3 separate regions of the Homo sapiens genome follow, and all the other regions are linked to region 1. The links are contacts of gene promoters, found by promoter capture Hi-C in blood cells and fetal thymus (Javierre and others, 2016). All regions are on one chromosome and are shown on one strand. Each heading gives the region's core, a stretch centred on a gene start or on the middle of the fragment in contact. The rest is flanking DNA. Distances are from core to core; before and after follow the strand shown.

Region 1 (4,657 bases), core at 778-3,277:
GAAAAACATACATGCAAAAATTTTACAAATAACTTGAGACTCCAAAGTCTTTCTGTGAATCCTAAGTTAGCAACCATGGATTCTGAGTCAGACTTCTATTCAATAAAAGAAGTAACTTCAGTCAGATCTGCTTCTGGGATCTGATAGTTCTTTGTGCCTGGAAGAGTTCAAGCAAAAATTAGGTGAGAAATTGGCAGATGTGTTATAAAGGAGATTAAAATACTGAAAGGGGCTGGTTTTCTAACCTTAAGATTCCATGATTCCAATGTGAGCAAAAAAATACGGGCTCAATCAACTCTCTGGTTGAACACTCACTGAACGCTCTGTGGTGCCAAACTCTACATTCAGTGCTGTGGTGAGATACCAAAGTCAGAGAAGACATGGAACCCGCCTCTAAAGAACACTGAAATTGTGGGAATATGTAAAGTGTGCTTAAATCTACAAAGCAGGAGCTTTACAGGTTACAGAGCTCTTTTACTTTCCTTATCCAAGTCAAGCTTCATGACAACAAATTAAAAGGGGAAAGAAGCACTTAACACAGTGCTAATAATAATAAAATATATTCATTGAATGCTTACTACATTCCAGATACTTTCAATCAAGCAGCAAATAATATTTGAGCACCCACTTGGTGTCAGGCACTGCAGTAAGCACAGTGAATACACAGCAGAATCTGTGCCCACATACATCAACTAATTTATTTAATCAATCCTATGAACTGTTATTTTTGTCTCTAATTTATAGTTGAAGAAATTCAGGCTCAGAGAGGTTAAGTTACTAACCGAAGGTCATACAGTCAAGAGGCAGACAGGAGATTTCACCCAGGACCACTGGAACTCAAATCTGTGCTCTTCTCCACTGCATCCTGGTGCCAAGCCCACAACTCCAAAACTACAGCTTTCCTGGATCATTTCACAATGTCAGCTTCTCATCATGCAGATATCTCAAGTCCCCAAGCACTCTAGACGTCACTGATGACAGCAGGAAGAACAAGGCCTTCTACTTACTTTAGCCTTCACTTAATTCTAAAGTCAAATTTATGAGTCAGTGGGACAGGTATTATAATCCCCAAGTCTACAAAACTGAGGGAGAAGAAGGCTATCTTAGCCACTGTGAGAAACGGAAATAATCACAGAGCAAGAAGAAACACCAAGCAACTGATCTTTATCCAGCACAGCAAAGTGCATCTGCTCTTGAGCAAATCCAGGGCCCACCACTACTGTAAATGGAAACTGGTATGCCTTGCCAAAACAGAAAGTGGCCACAAAAATAAATGTTATTTAAGTGAAATAATCAGACGCAATGCAAGATCAGCGCTGAGCCTGAGTCCTGATCTCTGTTTAAGAGACATGAGCAATTGTTAGAGAAGAGTGAAGGTGTGTTAGAGAGGAGTTGGGGCAGTATGTCAGAACAAACGAGCACTACGTTTATTGAGAATAATCAGAAGAAATGAAAGAGCCTGTAAAGGAGACTACCTGCTTGGCTACGTGATTACATACATGTTATCTGATAAAGTGTCCACCCAAAATCATGTCCGGTGTCACTGTTTAGTGCTTGACACAAAGTAAGCTTTCAGTAAAGAACAGCTGTCGATGTCATTGTTTGGAATAACTGTTTTTCTCCATGTTATTGTTGGGATTGGATCGCAGAATAGCTGGTGCCATAAGACTGCCAACCTCAGCTCACCAGGCTTGTCCTTGTCACTTATCAGAGGAGTAAACTGAGACCCAGAGCCACGCGGTCGGCTAGTGGCAGGGCAGAGCCGGATACCCGGGCCCAGTGCGACGCTCGCGCCTCATCCTTTCTCCTTAAGGCGAGGACATCCTCCTCAAAGGGAGGGACCTCCCCCCGCAGACACCCGGGAGCTCCCAAACTCCCCGAAGCACTCACCTTCATGACTGCCAGGCCCGGAGGCCACCGAGACTCGGCCAGGGAGTCCATGGTCGCTCCCGAGGATGCTGGGGGTCAGCCACCCACTAGCCTCCGGCGCTCCAACACCACTCGAAATTCCCCGCGCTACCGCATTACGTCAGCAGCCCGCGACGCGCCAGAGGCGGGCGCGGAGCCTGCCGGAAGTTGTAGTAGTATGTGGGCGGGGCGCCGCTTAAGGGCTTGTACTGCGCATGCGCCAGGCTTCTGCCGCACTTACCTTGAAGAAAGTGAATGGTTAAAAAGCGTAGAGCCAGTTGAATATTAAGAAAAGATAGCCAGGAATCAAACCAAATCCAGACCTCACCAGATCTGTCAAGGTCCAGGCTCATGACCCCCCTCCGGGTCGCCCACCCTAATCGCAGTGACTATCCGTCCTTGCTCTGAACAGAAGTTTTTATATCCATTACTTTATGTCTCCCGTATCACAACACTGGGAGGTAGATGTTATCATTGTCAGTTTACACAAGAGAAGCCTACGCCCGAAAAAGTGGATAGAGTTTCGAGTCAGATTCCAAACAGGACCTCTGGGCTTTAAATGGGAGCTGTTGCTTTTATTCATATTAAAATTTTAATGCACGGTTTTTCTTTTTCTTCGGAGAGAAGCACCATTAACTTTGGCATATAGCCTTCTAGATATTTCCTATGCAGATTGACGAAGATTCTTTGCTTGAGCAAACTTTAGTCAGGCTCCTGAACCTTCTCCTAGGCCAATCTGTGTACTTCCTGTAAAAATCCAGTTTTAGCAAAAAACCCTGCTAAATCAAGTTACCAAGAATCCCCACCTTTGATATGTGATCACTCTTGATATCTGATGTGTTCCTCATCCTCCACCATCCCCCAGTTGATGTCTGATCACCCTGGCCTCTTCAGCAAGAATCTACTGTTACCTCTGATGTTTCCTCTTAGTAATTTTTCATGCACTGCTCCCCACCCTGCTTCCTGGCTATAAATTTCCATTTGCCCATGTTGTATTCAGAGTTGAGCCCAGTTTTCACCAATTGCAAGACACAGTTCCAGTGGTCTCTATACCTACTTGAATTGTCCTGATTAAGTCTTCCTTATTGTGCTTTAACAAGTATCATTGAACAATTTTTTTCTTAAACGAGATATAAATATAGATACTTTTTTTCATACATGTTATATTAAATGCATGAGGAATGGAGGTTTACGGTGTCCACCCCCGCCCCCCACTTTGTATCAGCCAATCATAGAACGGCATGCAAATGAACGCAAATGAATGCCAGGCTGAGCTGGAAAATGTCGGATAGTTCTGGATGTGGAGGAAGTGGGGTCTTGGAGAGACAAAGGAAAAGCATTTAAGACCAGGTCCGTGGCCTGAGTGAACCAGTAATTGTTTTTTTCACACTACTAGTTGGACAAGGTAATTAGGTTTAAGGTGACAAATGGCTGGGAAGGTGAGAGAGGAAGAGAGAGGAGATGAGAAAAAAGAGAAAGAATGGGTAAGGAGAAAGGGAGAGAGAGAAAAGACAGGGACAGGAATGTACTTTTTGCATTCAACCATGGAGACAGATTTGGAAGGAGGCAGTACTTGTTAGTCCTGGGGCCAAAATACATTTCCCTATCTATGGAGAGCCTCCAGGACAGGATGCGGTGCCATTCATCTCTGAGTGTCTGCCAATAGCTGGTGGGTGAGGCTGAATGAATGGATGAATCACCGACTAAGCCCACATTCCCATAAATCTTTTCCTCCCAGGCTGAGCATTTCTCTTCCTGCCATCTTCAGCAGCACCAGGGTGATAGATCCCATCAAGCCCACCTCTAGGCCCAGGAAGGAAAGTTCAAGAACAAGCGCACTTTGAGCTCAGGAAAAGGCGTTTGTCTTGGGTGTTTATCTAACCCTGGGAGCCATTCTCCTCTTAACAAGCTGCTGTTTGTATGGACTTTCTCCTTCTGTTAGATCAATAAAGAGATTGTACTTCCTTATTCAGGACTAAAAACAAAATGTTCCATGTAAAATAAAAGCAGGCTAGTGTTTAGTGGAATCTTCTGTGGCACATAGCACACAGCGAGAAGCCAGAATAGGATGGCCAGATAAAATACAAGTTGCCCAGTAAATCTGAATTTCAGATGAACCGCACACAACATTTTAGTGTAAACCTGCCCCAAATATTGCACACAACCTATTAACCAATTATTTGTTGTTTAACCAGAAATTCAAATATTTAACTGGGCATCCTGTATTTTTATTTGCCAAATCTGACAACCCTAATTAGAGAAGCATTCTCCCAACTGAGTGTGGGGCCTGCCCTGGATTAACCTGGGGATGTCCTGTGGCCCCTGAGCTCCTTTCCAGGTTCTCTTCATCCTGTTCCTCTCTGCCCAGCACTCTCTCTTCCTCTAGGCCCCATCTTCCTCATTCTAGTTATGGGAGAGGGGATATTAAAGGAGCTCCCTCCCTCCCTTTCCTTCCTTCCTTTCTTCCTCCCTTCCTTCGTTCCTTCTTTCCTTCCTTCCTTCCTTATTTTTTTTCTTCCTTCCTCCCTGCCTCCATCTCTCCCTTCCTCCATTCATTTTAACAAATGTTTATTGAGCCACTCTCCACTTGTACCAGGTGCTAGAATACAGAGGTGAGTAAGACAGATATGGCCTCTGTTCTCCAGGAGCTGGCAGCCTGGGGGTGAGCATGGAGCCAGGATAAAAAAAAAGAGAGTTTGTAAAAAAATGAGTAAGATAATTGCATAAAACAGTAACTGATGTAAAAACA
Region 2 (4,657 bases), core at 1,273-3,772, 4.7 Mb before region 1:
AGCTCTAATCAGTAGAAAACAAACATACAGAGACACACACACACACACACTCTAGCTCTCCTTCTCTTTTGGCCCTACATCAAAAGACTAGCATATAAATGTACCAAAATCATTTAAGTTAAAACAAAATGTTTCTCTATCTATCTATCTCCCCACCCTCCACCAATATATATATATATAATTTTTATGAGTTCAATAAGATGGTTTTGCCTGTGCTTACATTAAATAGTTGCAGGGAACATAAGAAATGGCTTATAAAGTAGGAGAACTAATGTAAAGAGGGTAACCAATGCTAAGGGAAACAGGGTAAAGAAAGATACAGAGAAGGGACTACTTGAGCTGAGCAGACAGACAGTCCTGGGTAAAGGCACTGGAGATACAAGAACAATGTGGACAAAGGCCCAGAGGCCCAAGTAGAATGGCTTTTTGAGGGAATGTCAACAGAACAAGGGGTTCCAACAGAGAACAGCAGCAAAAGAGACCAAGGAAATAGGTAAAGTCTGGGTCCTCAAAGGCTCATAAGACAGAATATAGAAGGTAAACTTTGAGAGAAAATGGAGCAAATAAGAATCTAAGCAGCAAAATATAATAACTGGACAAGGATCTTCAAAGGTCATTGTAGCAGCGGCAGTAAGGGTGATTTGGGGATATGGAGAATGACAGACTTAAAGCAAAGAACTTCCAAAGTCCAAGCAAGAAATGAGAGAGCCTAGGACTAAGTGAGAAGAGGCAAAAATGAGAACATGAAGGCAGAATCAACAAGACTTACCCACCACGTCCTTAGCTATATGAGTCTAGTGAAGTGAAGGAATACAGAGTAACTGGTTTGTTGCTTTAGTGGCTCTGTAGATCACAAATTATTTTCCCAGTTAACTTTAAAGAAGAAAAAGCAAGACTGGCAGAAGAAGTCAATTCAGATTATTTTGAGTTTGAGGAGCCTGTAGGACAGAAAACAGAAATGCTCAATCATTAGCTGAATATGCGTAACTGGATTTGAGGAGAAACGTCTGATCTGGGTTGGAGACTGGTGACCTAATCCTTTATATTTGAAGCCATGGGAGTGGATGTTATTAATGAGAAAGTTCAGGGAAGGGGAGCAAAGAAAAAGGTCAAGGGCAGAACCCTGAATCACACCCACTTTTCAGAAACAGTCAGGCAGGAAAACAACAAGAGGATACTAACAAGGAAAGGTCTGCAAGATGGAAACACATTTAGGCCAATGGGACCTCAGAAGCTGCAAGGTCAGAAGGGTTTGTGAACCCAAAATTATCTGAGACAGGTCTCAATTTAGAAAGTTTATTTTCCCAAGCTTAAGAATGCGCCCCCAACATAGCCTCAGGCAGTCCTGATGACATGTGCCCAAGGTGGTTGGGATACAGCTTACTCTCACACATTTTAGGGAGACATAATACATCAATCAATACATGTAAGATTGGTTGGATCTGGAAAGGCAGACAACGAGAAGCGGGTGAGGGGTGGCTTCCAGGTCATAGGTAGATTTAAAGATTTTCTGATTGGCAACTGGTTATTATCTAAAGACCTAAAATCAATAGAAACGAATGTCTGGGTTGCAATAAGAGGTTGTGGATACCAAATTTGATCGTGGAGATGAAGCCTCCAAGAGGTAAATTTCAGAGAACAGATTGTAAATGTTTCTTATCAGACTTAAGGTGTGTGTTGATGTTGATGCTGGCTGGCTTTTCCTGAATTCCAAAAGGAAGAAGGGCATAATGAGGCATGTTGGACCCCCCTTCCCATCATGGCCTGAACCACTTTCTCAGGTTAACCTTGGCAGAGAGGAGGGGTCCCTTCAGATGGTTTGGAGGATTGGAATTTTATTTTTGGTTTACAGTTTCAAGGAGAAGCAGGACAATCATGTCAGAGAGCTTCAGTGAGGTTGAAAATGCTCCACCGGATTCAGCAGTCTTGAGGCTATCAGAATCCTTTGGCAGGGCAGGGGTTTGGAGGGGTGAGGGTAGAGGGATGGAGAGGAGGGAAAAGGACAGGCAAAGGGGCACGGATACCTCCATCAGGGAGTGAGCATGCCCCCACACAAATTCCTTAAGGCACCCTGTGAGGCTATCGCCTTGGCACAAACCCTATCACATGTCAGTCAACTTCCCGGCAAGCCGCAGACCTTTAGAAACCTTGGTGTGCGTTTCCCCGCTCGGTTTAGAACGCACCCCTGCCTCCACTCCACAAACGTGCAGTGAGCCCTCAAAAACCTGGACAAATGACCTCACCTCGAAAGCCCCCTCTCTGATGCTCCCAGGAAAAACTAAAGCACCTCACTTTGTTTCGTCCGTACCTTACATGGTTTTGTAATTATCTGTGGTGCCTCTGGCTGAAATCAAAACGGGAGCCAGACCCAAAAAGTCAAGGAAGGGAAGCGCCTTCCAGGCCACTCCTGAGAAGAAACGAACTACAATTCCCATGAGGCGGTGGGGCCACGGGACCACAAGTCCCAGCATCCACCGCGCGGCCCAGGACTGTCAGGGTAGTGGGCGTTGCGTGAGGCGGGTAAATGTTCGCGGAAGCGGCAAAGACGACACGGCCTTGTGGGATGGCGGAGTTTAAGGAGAAGCCTGAGGCCCCGACTGAGCAGCTGGATGTCGCGTGCGGCCAGGAAAACTTGCCGGTGGGCGCGTGGCCCCCGGGGGCCGCGCCGGCGCCCTTCCAGGTAGGGGCGGGGCCAGGCGGCGCGGGAGGCGGGCGCGCGGCTCCCCCACGTGGTCTCCTCAAGCCGCCTCGCTGGGACGGCCTCCCAGTCGCGACCTTTTGTCTTCTCTTACAGCGCACCCGTTGGTGCGCGGGAATAGGTGTGCATGCCCCGGCCTGGGCCTTTTTCTGTTGACCCACGGCATCACCTTAGCAAGGGTGTTGTCCTTTTCAGTCCATTCCCTGAAGCGCAGAACCGGAGGCCTTGTGAGAACCTGGCTTTTTGTCCAGTCCTGTCCTCAGAACTCAAGGAGGCATCACGGGGGGAGTCATTTACCTCCCTGGTCTCAGGTGTCTCTCACAGGTAGGATAAGCCGTGGGGCCTATTAATGGATCGCAGCCGGTGTCGTGCATAAAAACAGCCCCTCGAGTCAGCCTTAGCTGTGGTCTCCCTCACGCTGTGGGCTCTTGGGCGAGTGTAAATTAGCTGTGGCTCAGCCTTAGAGTCTTCCAGCGTACAGTGGAACAGTACCTCTCTTCCGGAGTGCTTTGAAAATGGCAAGGAAAATACACTTTCCGGTTTGCTGTAAGAACTCAGTAAATGTTTGCTTCTATTAACTACCTCAAAGCCCTTTCTACTCTCCTTTTTCTTTTTGAGACTGAGTCTCGCTCTGTCGCCCAGGCTGGAGTGCACTGGCGCGATCTCGGCCCACCGCAACCTCCACCTCCCGGGTTCAAGCGATTCTCCTGCCTCAGCCTCCCGAGTAGCTGGGATTACAGGCATGGGCCACCACGCCCGGCTAATTTTTGTATTTTTAGTAGAGACAGGGTTTCTCCATGTTGGTCAGGCTGGTCTCGAACTCCCAACCTCAGGTGATCCGCCCGCCTCGGCCTCCCAAAATGCTGGGATTACAGGCATGAGCCACGCTCCCAGCCTCTACTGACTTTCTTATCCCTCCGACCTTGGCCTGAGCGTTACCCAAGGAATAAGGAATGACCAAAGATTTTGAAGTGGAAAGAGCGCTGGACGTGGAAGTTGGAGAGTATGGTTCGGAGCTTAGACATCTTAGCTACTTCCCAGAGCCTGAGTTTCTTCATCTGCAAAATGAAAATAATAATTTAAAAATGCATAGCCCCTTTAACATCCATTATCAACAATGAACCCTATCTGCCCTTTCTTTTTCCTAGGGGTTTTTGTGAGGATCAGATAAGATAAGAGATTCAATAGCAGCTTTCAAAGATGTCAAGGAAAAGAATCAAACTCTAAAATATTTGAAGAGATTTATTCTGAGCCAAATATGAGTGACCATGGCCTGTGACACAGCCCTCAGGAGATGCTGAGAACATGTGTCCCAGGTGGTTAGGGCACAGCCTGGTTTTATACATGTTTGGGAGAGAGGAGACGTCAATCAAATACATTTAACATGTACATGGGTTTGGTTCAGAAGGCGGGGCAACTCAAAGTGGTGGGGGGGGCTTCCAGACTATAGGTAGATTTTAATTTTTCTGGTTAACAATTTTTCTGGTTAACAATTGGTTGAGTTTGTCTGAAGACCTGGGATCAATAGAAATGTTTAGGTTAAGATAAAGGGTTTTTTTTTGAGACGGAGCTTGACTCCATCACCCAGGCTAGAGTGTGGTGGTGCGATCAGCTCACTGCAACCTCCGCCTCCCAGGTTCAAGCGATTCTTCCACCTCAGCTTCCCGAGTAGCTGGAATTACAGGCGCCTACAACCACGCCCAGCTGATTTTTGTATTTTTAGTAGAGACAGGGTTTTACCATGTTGCCCAGGCTGGTCTCAAACTCCTGACCTCAAGTGATCCACCCACCTGGGCCTCCCAAAGTGCTGGGATTACAGACGTGAGCCACCGCACCCGGCCATGTAGAGACCCAAGTTTTAATTGTGGGGAGGAGACTCCCAGCTGACTTCAGAGGGAGCAGGTTGTAAAATGTTTCTTATCTAACTTAAAAAGGTGCCTCGGTCTTAGTTGATTATCT
Region 3 (4,657 bases), core at 1-2,500, 3.5 Mb after region 1:
CGAGAGGAGCCGCAGCCTCTGGTGGAGTTCGGTCGGGTGTGGGGGTAGTCAAGGAAAGAAGCAAAGGGGTAAGACAGGGAGTTAGGAATTGGCGGGGCCCCTAACGCTGTTGGGGTGCGCAGTTTATTTTATTTGCAGCTGTCGTCTGGTGAGCGCTTTCCACGTGGTAGGCCCCGAACGAAACGCCTTCTGCAAAATTATGCATTTAATCCTGACAACAACTTTCAAAGGCTGGTCATCTGTTTATATGGCTTATTCTCAGGTTCTAACTTGAAAGCTCCCCAGAGGCAGGATTGTTTACCTTGTGCCTTTCATCCTTGCCTCCCTAAGCCCAGGAGGTGCGCAGATGGAGCTTGAAGCGTGTTTTGGTTGGGAGAAGGTGAGATTTGCTGGGTAGGAGGTTTTTTAACCAGGTTTGTTTGGCACCTAGTCCAGGAAGGTTGGAAAATTAAATGGAGCCACCTCTCCCTTTTTTGTTTTTCTAATAGACATTTACCATCACCTAAGAGGTGTTAGCCTGTGTGCTCGAGGGAAGAATAAGAAACAGACTCTGCTTTTAATAGAAAGTAAGAATATGCAGCTCTGGAGTCAGGTTGCGCAGGTTGGGGAAATAAGAAGTAAAGATTTCTCAGGGGTGCGCCCGGCCCCTCCGAGTCACTTTCCACATCTGTACAATGGAAATAAAAATAGTCTTTACCTCCGGGGGCTACTGGGATTAAGTGAATTTGAATAGACCTTGCTGTTACCAGTGGTTAGCTATATGTTAAAATCAGCTGGGTCCACCCAGGAAATTCTGATGTAATTGATTGCAGGTGAGGCCTGGGCATGAGGAGTTAAGGGTAGGTAAGCTTGAGGGCCACTGTGTGATGTACCACTCCCAGGTTTAATTTTCTTAATCTGCATTTTTCAATCATCATTCTAAATAACCTGCAGTGACTCCAATTCCAAACCAACCTTTGCATCCCAAACCTCTTGACAACTGACCCAGTCTTTCCTATATGTTTTTGTGCACCTCAGGCACCGCTCTTCTTTCATATCTGTGGAATGAGGATAGTACAGTCAGCTCTCGCTATCAGGTTCCGAATCTGTGGATTCAACCAATGTTGCATCAAAAATATTTGGAAAAAGAAATTTAAAAATATATATATATAACAATTATTTAGTATTTACATTGTATTAGGTATTCTAAGTAATCTAGAGAAGACTTAAAGTAGATGGGAGGATGGGCATAAGTTACATGCAAATACTACATTTTATTTAAGGGACTTGAGCTGCGGATTTTGGTAGGGGGTGAGTCCTGGAACCAGTCCTTCTGTGGATACCAAGGGATGACTATAGTACCCACATGTGCAGCACATGCAGTGAGTGCCTCTGGCATCTGGTACCTACCTATGACAGTTTCCTCTTCTTATTTTACTCACATCCCACCTCTTACAGCATGCTGTTCTGCCGCGACACTAAAGAACCTTCTTGAATATCCATTGCAGATATGGGGAATGGTAAATGCAGTCTTTTCTCCTCTGCTTTGCCTTTCGAGTTCAGCACAGGAGGACTCTTCCATGAAACTAGAGATCATCTGATTTGTCCTCTTGAATTTTTCCCCCTGGGGAAGTGAGCTCTACCTTCCCTGAGGGTTTCTTTCTATCTTTTCTAGAAGCTTCACGCTGGTATCTGTGAAGTCATTCTTGCAGGACATGGCCTGGGGAATGTCTTTACTTCTGAATTTTTTAAAATAGCTTTATTGAGATACCATATAATTCTGTAAAAGTCACCCTTCTGAAATGTACGAGTCAGTGGTCTTCGTATTCGCGGAGTTATGTAACCATTACCATCACTACAATCTAATTTTAAAACATTTTCGTCACCCTCCAAAATAAACCTCCTGTCTTATTAGCAGTCGCCCCCCCATTTCCCACTTTTCCCTGTCTCTGGCAACTGGTAATCTGTCTCTATGGATTTGTCTATTCCGGAAACTTTATCTTAATTGTCTCGTGGTCTTTTGTGTCTGACTTCTTTTAGCATAATGCTTTCAGGTGTTGAAGAATGTATCCGAACTTCATTCCTTTTCTATGGCTAAGTATTTGATTATATGGATAGACCACATTTTGTTGATCTGGTCAACTATTGATGGACATTTGGATGGCTTCCACTTTGATGCTATTATGAATAATACTGTTGTGAACATTCACATACAAATTTTTCCATGAACATATGTTTTCATTTCTCTTAGGTCTATACCTAGGGGTGGAGTTGCTGGATCATGTCGTAACTATGTGTTTGACATTTTGAGGAACTGCCAGACTCCTCCAGTCCTGTTCGATTTGAAGATGAAACTGGGCTTAGAGAAAGTGGGTTGTGCAAGGTCACACAATAATAATGGCGGCTTTGCATGTCTGGAAGGCCTACTGCGAGCCAAATTCCTGAGGGGTGTGCAGCCACATGAGCAAGAGTAACACAAGAACTTGGATTATGAGGGGTGTTTTGTCGCAGGGACCCTTCCATCCCACACACCTGGGTTGGAGTACAGAGTTCTTTCGATCAAGTGTCACAGCTAAATCTTGCCTTTTTTAGATGTGACAGCAGTCTGAGAGGGAAAAACGCTGAACAAATGAGGCAGACTAAAATACAACTCTTATTTGTTGAGAGAATTTATTAGAACTTCTTGAAGGTGGCCATTAAATCTTTTTTCATTTTTTTAAAATTCCGAATGTAATGTATATAAGTCAGCTGCTGAGCAGAGGTTATAAAAGTGAAAAATCCCATAAAAGTCCAAACCATTCCTGGAAGTCTTTCAAAAAGTGCCTTACTAGAGACCAACATCCTGCCCCCAAAAAGCAGTGTTTATTTTCAGTTTTAGAATAAATTATTGTCTCTCCAATTGAGTACTAAATGTGATAATTTAGTACTTGGGCTGAGGGATAAGTCAGCAAGCAAGGTAAAGCCTAGTCTAAATATGCTCTTAAGAAAATCTCTTAGGTTTCCTGTGAGCATGCAGTAGACGTGGTTTTGTTATAAACACTATACAGCAAGATGCATGCATAAATATAAAATGTACAAAGTAATGCTCAGTATGTAATTCCTTCAAGGAACCTTATTTAGAAATTAATCTAGCATGTTGCTGCTTAGAACAATGGCAATTCTAGGAAGGTTCCAACTTCCCGATTCTTCTTTTTCATGGTTATCTTTGTAATTGATGTATCATTTCCTCTAACTCCTCTTTAGTCTGTGTTTTTCTGTGTCCTCATATAATTCCTCAGCTTCTTCCTTGAGAAGTTGGATACTGATATCATCACACGTTGGATAAGCCTTTTCTTAATGGTCATGACACTCTTAAAGCCACTCACCTTCCCCTCCCTCAGTTTTGGCCACCTTCTTGACTGTTTCAGGCTTGATGGCATCCCTTGCCAATGGGATGCAAGTACTGAGTGCAGGAGCCACCTAAGTAATTAGTCTTATTTTTTCCCTTGTGAGGATTCGGAGTCATGTAGGTTAAACGTGTGTATGATTTGGCCGCACTGTATCTTCAAGCACCAGGTAAGCTCTCAGTTGAAATCAAGTCTAGACCTAGTACTGGGGGAGCAGCAGATTCAAGTTTCCCATCTCATTCCAGGACAGCTGCTCCTCGAGTGGAATGTCTTGCACCATTTACATTGTTTTCCCATGTATATGGTTACGTTTTCCTAGGTTAAGTGCATCTACTGTATCTCTGTGTCTGCATCACACAATATGTTCACATTTACTTCCCTCCTTTAGACATTAGTGGATAACAGCCAGTTCCGTTAGCTCCAACCTGCTTTCTGTGCTTCCAGCTATGTTATATACTTGTTTTGTCTCCTTGGATCCAATGTATGGCCCCAGAGGGACACGTACTGGCTTTGGCTTTCTGTTCTCCCTCATGGTGCTGGGTGCACAGTGGGTAATTCCGTTACTGCTCAATAACCCTTCACCGTCTGATTTTGAGAAAGAGTCATCAGACAAAAGTAGATAGACCCTGCCTGTGCTTTCAGCAGAATCTAGAGAGAGGGCATGGGCTTGGGAGTTCAACAGACCTGGGTCACCCGATGCCACCACACTCGGGGTCGTCTACAAATCTCTCTAACCTGAATCTGTTTCCTATTTGTAAAATGGTGTTGCTACTGCTCACCCTGTAATACTAATTATAGCTGATACATGAATGGTACACGCTATGTGCCAGGTACTGTTCTAAGCACTTTATGGATCTTAACTGTAAGATAGAGTCGTTCTTATCTTGATTTTGCAGGTGAGGAAACTAAATCACAGAGAGAGTCAGTGACTTTTGCCCAAAATCACACTGCTAGGAAGTGGTAAAGTTGATTCTGATGCTGATAGTCTGGCTTTAGAGTCCCTGCTTGAAGCCAGTAGCATTTGGTAGTATATAATCGACCCTTAAATAACTGCTGCTGTCATTATTATTTATTAATGTACTTTAAAAATTGGGAGCTGATTGACCCAATGTTTAGTGTGTATTGTAAGATCCTCTTGGAAAATGAAGTGCCTGCAAGATTTAATTTGTTGAGGACAGGGTCTCAGTTTTGTCTTTGTCTCCCCAGCACCTATGATTATTAGGAATTCCTGGTAGTAAATGTCTGTTGGGTGAGTGAAATGGAAGCACTCCTGGTAGACAGAAATCCTGTTG

The links. The method cuts DNA at HindIII sites, captures the fragments that hold promoters and counts their contacts. A CHiCAGO score of 5 or more calls a contact.
Region 2: a contact is called between the fragment with the promoter of SETMAR here and the fragment with the promoter of RAD18 in region 1, in 1 of 17 cell types (total CD4 T cells). The highest score is 6.7, in total CD4 T cells.
Region 3: a contact is called between a fragment that was not itself captured here and the fragment with the promoter of RAD18 in region 1, in 1 of 17 cell types (total B cells). The highest score is 6.2, in total B cells.

What each region holds. Positions count from the first base shown.
Region 1 is chr3:8,961,445-8,966,101 of GRCh38, forward strand. It overlaps RAD18 (RAD18 E3 ubiquitin protein ligase), which reads right to left and starts at 2,028. Exons shown (of 13, transcript NM_020165.4): 1 at 1,891-2,028. The coding sequence starts at 1,941. RefSeq lists an enhancer at 1,876-2,045. The HindIII fragment of the contact is 5,728 bases long and covers 1,568-4,657 here.
Region 2 is chr3:4,300,847-4,305,503 of GRCh38, forward strand. SETMAR (SET and mariner transposase domain methyltransferase) reads left to right here and starts at 2,523. Exons shown (of 3, transcript NM_006515.4): 1 at 2,523-2,680. The coding sequence starts at 2,525. It also overlaps a transcript of SUMF1 not described here. RefSeq lists enhancers at 2,120-2,862, 2,891-2,960 and a silencer at 2,461-2,800. The HindIII fragment of the contact is 4,274 bases long and covers 1,308-4,657 here.
Region 3 is chr3:12,484,813-12,489,469 of GRCh38, forward strand. TSEN2 (tRNA splicing endonuclease subunit 2) reads left to right here. Exons shown (of 12, transcript NM_025265.4): 1 at 1-68. Among named protein-coding and RNA genes, the nearest start is that of TSEN2, 2.7 kb to the left of the region's middle. RefSeq lists an enhancer at 1-11. The HindIII fragment of the contact is 809 bases long and covers 847-1,655 here.